2 separate regions of the Homo sapiens genome follow, and region 2 is linked to region 1. The links are contacts of gene promoters, found by promoter capture Hi-C in blood cells and fetal thymus (Javierre and others, 2016). All regions are on one chromosome and are shown on one strand. Each heading gives the region's core, a stretch centred on a gene start or on the middle of the fragment in contact. The rest is flanking DNA. Distances are from core to core; before and after follow the strand shown. Region 1 holds the start of SOST (sclerostin). Region 2 has its middle 51 kb from the start of MEOX1.

Evidence for each region. Contacts are between HindIII fragments. The CHiCAGO score rates a contact against its expected background, and 5 or more counts as called.
Region 2: a contact is called between a fragment that was not itself captured here and the fragment with the promoter of SOST in region 1, in 4 of 17 cell types (megakaryocytes, M1 macrophages, M0 macrophages and 1 more). The highest score is 6.0, in megakaryocytes.

Annotation. Positions count from the first base shown.
Region 1 is chr17:43,757,434-43,760,133 of GRCh38, forward strand. SOST (sclerostin) reads right to left here and starts at 1,358. Exons shown (of 2, transcript NM_025237.3): 1 at 1,089-1,358. The coding sequence starts at 1,308. The HindIII fragment of the contact is 6,420 bases long and covers 1-2,326 here.
Region 2 is chr17:43,610,009-43,612,708 of GRCh38, forward strand. No RefSeq gene overlaps it. Among named protein-coding and RNA genes, the nearest start is that of MEOX1, 51 kb to the right of the region's middle. The HindIII fragment of the contact is 2,266 bases long and covers 288-2,553 here.

The DNA of each region.
Region 1 (2,700 bases), core at 108-2,607:
CCCCATAGTCCCAACAGGTTGTGAGGCGGGGAGGGCTGGGGTCCAGGAGCCTGGGCAGTGGACTTCTCTGCCACCTGGATAATGGCCAGAGGACAGGGAAGCTCTTAGTCTGAAGTGTCATTTCAGACGCCCCCATGGCCTCAGGATTCCTGCCAATTATAGAGCCAGATGCACACTGTCACCTGGGCTTCTCTGTGCAGGCCTGACCAGGAACCCAGGGTTCCTCTTCCTTCTCCCTCCCCTGGAATGAGGCAAGGTTGGGACTGGGGTGGCTGCTGAGGACAGATGTCCCTACTCCTGCACAGAGGATGCTGCTCTCCCCTCCAGGGCCTGGACTCAGCTGCACCCATGTCAGGGGCTAAAACTGTGCCGAAAACTCCCATTCCTTCAAGTGCCAGCTCCCTGGGCAGGCCGTGGGCAATGCACACTGCAGGGGTGCCTCTCTGGCCTTCCTCCCCACTGCTTTGTGGAGATCTGTCCCCCACACCCCCCCACACACCAGGGCTATCTTGCAGTTGGATCAAACCAGGTTCACACCTCAGCTCTTCTCACTACCAAGTTACTGAGTGCCTGGAACCTGTTTCTTCCCCTTCGAGCTGGGGGTTCACCTCCTGGGGATTCCATGATGTGGGTCTGTGTGGTGGGGACAGCCACCACCAGCATAGAGTGTCCGGTGCCCCACAGGTGCTGTTCTGTGGATGGGAGGCTCCCTTACCTTGTTCCCTTCCCAGTGGTACCAGCAGCTGGACGTGGCTCCTATATTCCCAGGAGGAGATTCTTTGAAACCTTTTCTTTTCTGAGCCCCTGAGCCTGTTCTGATGCCCTGATGCCATACCCTCACCACCCCAGCGTCCTCCCTGCCCTGGGCTCTCACCAGCGTCTGTTGCCTCATGCCTCTGCACCTGAATTTGAAGGCTGCACCAGCGAGCCATTCTTCCCCCACCTCCAGGCAAGACTGTTCCTCGACCAGTGCTGGCAGAGGCCAGCAATCTTCACTGGGTCTACCCCAGTCTTCCAAGCCTCCCAAAGAGAAGTTTCTAAAACCTCCCCAGGATCTTTTACTAAGAATTCTCTCCTCCACCCCATACCTTTGGTCTCAAAGGGGTGGTGGGGAGGCCGCCCTCCGTTCTCCGCCCGGTTCATGGTCTTGTTGTTCTCCAGCTCCGGTGGAGGCTCGGGGTACTCTCCGAGCTCGGGGATGATTTCCGTGGCATCATTCTTGAACGCCTGCCACCCCTGGCCCTCCACTACACGGAAGGCTGTGTGTACCAGCAGGCAGACGAGACACAGGGCCAGTGGGAGCTGCATGGTACCAGCCAGAGGAGGGCACGCCACCTTCCAGTAGCACAGGCTCTGGTCTCCAGCCGAGACACGGTCGCCTTTTTAAAGCCCCTCTCTGCTTCATGCCAGCCAATGAGGACAGGCTGGGGCAGGGCTGGTCCCATGTTTCCCTCAGCCCCGGAGGGAGGGAAAGGGGTGTGCTCAGAGCAAACCCTCCCCAAAGACTTCTCCTCTAGCTCAGCAAACTTCCAAATTGCTGCTGGCACTCCCAGGTGACCCAGAGAGAGGGGGCGTGTGAGGCAAGGCCCAAGCCTGCTCTCCGGCACCTCCCACGTGCTGGCGGCTGTGGTTTTCAGATATCAAAATGAGCTCCGGCTTTTAATTGTCTGTCTCCCTGGGCCCTCGGGCATTCTCAAAACAAACTGTGGACCCGCTCAACAAAGAAAATGTGCAGTTCTGAGTGCTTCGCGGGGCTGAGCCCGGCCTATTCCATTTCTCAGGCCAAGTTCATTTGTCACCCCACCAACAAATGGCCCAAGGCGTTTCTGTTTGACCCCCATAGACCCAGCCAGAGGCAAAAAGATGCTTTTAAAGAAATCCCATTGGTCCCAACTCCACAAGTCTCAGCATTCATTGTCCTAACCAAGAAAGCCTCTCTTGGTATTCTCTGGAAGGCAAGAGAGAGAACTAGAGGGTCAGAGCAAGGGTGCCCGCTTGGGAGAGAGGGCAGGATTCTGGTTACAAATCGAGGATGCGCTGGTCACTCAGGCTCCTGTGGTGGACAGCACAGAGGAAATCCCAGCTCATGCTCCTCAGGGATCCTGTGCACTGTGACAGGCACTTCTGAGCCAGGGCACTCACTGTGGCTCGCAGGGTGATGTGCTGAAGACAGTCATTTCCCCAACCAGTCTGTGTGTGTGAGAAGACAACACCAAATTCCTTTCCTTAGCAAAAGCCACAGCCAGCGTTTTTAGTGCTGACATTTTATTTTCTTGTCTTCCAGCTGGTTACATTTTTCAAAAACAGTTTTGAGTCCTGTATGGAAAGCTTCATTGGTGCACACCACAGGATGTGTTCCATGAAGCCATCCCAGGACCAAGTGGTCACAAAGAAGCTAAGAGAAAATGCTGCCTTGGCCCTGCATATAATGAGCCACACAGGGCCGGGGCGGGGGGCGGGGGGGCAGGTAGAGGCGTGGGGGAGAAGGATTCACACCTGAGGTGCAAGAAGAGAAAGGAAGGCCAGAGGAATCTTTCATTGAAGACAGATTGTTTGAGGACAAGCAGCTCCTGTGAAGAGGCTGCCCAGATCCTCTGGTATTTTAACTGGGCAATGAATCAGCATGCCCCACCTGCAGAGCCTCTGCAAGTCCTTTGCCACCTGCCTCAACTTGCAAGTCGCTGTGTCCATCTGCAGCCG
Region 2 (2,700 bases), core at 171-2,670, 150 kb before region 1:
TCTCACCACTTTGTCTCCTGAATGTCTTCCCGAGGAGACTCTGATCTCCTTGAGGGCAGGGCATGTGCCTTTCCTGTCTGGAAGGCACCTAGTAAATGCCCAATAAGCATTGGTTGTTATTGTGAAAGAGCAGTAACTGATTCACAGCTGCTTCCATAGCACTTCCTGGACTCCAGCACTCACTCCGGACCAGGCTCAAGTTTCTGGATGGGTAGGAGGGCTGGCTGGGAACAAAAGAAAACAAAGGAAAGCTGATTTGGTTCTTTGTTCTGTGTAGCCCTGTGCTAAGCTTCCCCGTCCTCCAGCAGCTTGCACAGACCCTGGTTCCAGCACTTGGAGTTTTACTGCAATAATGCTCCATTATTGCTGTGTTAGAGTGTTATTATGTATTTCCATGTCTGTCCCTCCCCCTAGACTGGAAATGCCTTAAGGTTTCTTTAGTCCCAGGACCTAGATCAGTGCCTGGCATATAACAGGTGTCTTGTAAATGACCGTTGACTTCATGAGTGGGTTTTATGTATTGTATTGTACTGTAGTGTATTCTAGAGTATTGTATTCTAGAATATTGTATATGTTTGAGACAGTCTCACTCTGTCACCCAGGCTGGAGTGCAGTGGCATGATCTGAGCTCACTGCAACCTCCACCTCCCAGGTTTAAGTGATTCTTGTGCCTCAGCTTCCCAACATAGCTGGGATTACAGGCGTGCACCACCACACCCAGCTAATTTTTGTAAGTTTAGTAGAGATGGGGTTTCACCATGTTGGCCAGGCTGGACTTGAACTCCTGGCGTCAAGCAATCTGTCCGCCTCAGCCTCCCAAAGTGCTGGGATTACAGGCATGAGCCACCACGCCCAGCCAAATTTTTGCATTTTTATAGAGACGGGGTTTTGCCATGTTGGCCAGACAGGTCTTGAACTCCTGGCCTGAAATTATCCACCTGCCTCGGCTTCCCAAAGTGCTGTGATTACAGGCATGAGCCACTGCACCTGGCCTGCATGAGTGAAGAACTGAAAAAGGAGGACAGAAGGAAGGTTGGGGACAGGATCGAGGTTTAGCAGGGTGTCAGAACCACCGTACTAGCCAGTTTTACTGCAATAATGCTCCATGACAAGCCCTCCCAGAACACTGGCTTACATCAACCAGTGTTTATTCACATATTTTCCCCACTCATGAGTCTGTGAGTGGGGAGTCGCCACTCATAAGGCTGGCTCTGCTGGGGCTGAGCTATACTTGGCTCTGGGCTTAACCTTAGGTATGCTCCGTGTGTTTCTTCCCTTTCTTGGGCAAGTTGCTGTTTGGCATGTGCCCTTCTCATGGTGAATGGCAGGAGTGGAAACATGGTGCCACTTCAGGCTTTACCTTGGAACTGGCATGCTGTTGCTTCTCACATCCCATTGGCCCAAACTGGTCACATGGCCAAGCCCAATGCTGCTGGGTAGGGAAATATATTCCACCCACTCTCCTGCTCCAAGGTCACAAGGTAAGTCACATGAAGAGCTGAAGAACAATCTACCACAGCTTCCCTGAAACAAAACCCAGAACCTCTTATGTTCCTCCAGTGAGAAACTCTAGAAGAGTGGCTGCTGGTCCCTGAGTGCCACTTGTGGTCCTGATAGCCCTTTCCTCCTGGGTTTATGGCAGAAAGAGACAATTGTCCCCATTGCCCATTGCCCCTTTCTTTCTTTTAGTAATAGAACACTCCAGGTTTTAGTTAGGCATGTGGTGCCCACTAGGGGCCACATTTCCCAGCCTCCTTTGCAGCTAGATGTGATCATGTGACTAAGCTGTGGCCAATGGGATGATGCACAAATGCCACAGGCACCTCCTGATGACAGTTGGTATGAGGAAGCTGCATGTCCTCCCTTCCTCTGTCCTCCTTGCCTTGGGCTGGAATGTGGGCTCACATGGATGGTGAGGTAGCTTCAGCCATGAAGACAAGGACAACACTCCAGGATGACGGAGTAACACAGCAGAAGGAATCTGGGTGTTCACACAAGCTCCTGGTGTTTGCCCTGGTTGCCTGCCCAACCCTGGTCCCTAAAGTGAGAGAAAAATAAAATTCTCTTCTGTGTTATATTTTTGTTTCTTCCAGCATCTTAGCCTGTATCTCAACTCACATAAAGTCCCTCACTTGTCATCCCTTTGCTGCCCCTGCTCTGGCACCTAAACACCCCTTGCCTACCTTTTATCTCCCATTCACCAACGTGTGGACCCAAATCCCTTTTCTTGATTTTCCTTAGCAAAATGGAGACAGGATGGAGTTTTTAAAAATCGTAAACTACAAAGAGTAGTCAACGGCAAAATAGAACCCAAGAAATGAAGCAGAAAGCAATCAAGTTTCCATCACAGAGATACCTCGCCCCATCATGGCCATTACCCAGGGCAGTGTGATTGGGCTTTGCCCAGGGGGCTGGAAATTTAGAGGATATGGAATTTAAAACAATAATTGCGGAAAGTGATGAAAGTGAAACTGTTGTGACATTTTTAACATTTTGACAGCACATGCACCCCTGCATGACACAGAAACAAAGGGATTTGGCCCTTCCATAGGAAGCTTCCAGAAGGCCTGTGGTTAATAACACCTCCTTCATGATTCCTAGATGGAAAACCAAAGTTGGTTTGAGGGTGTGTTTCAGACCCTTGCCTGAGGCAGCCGAAGTGCCAGTTAGAGCTCTGTGTCCTACCAAAGGTGACTCACC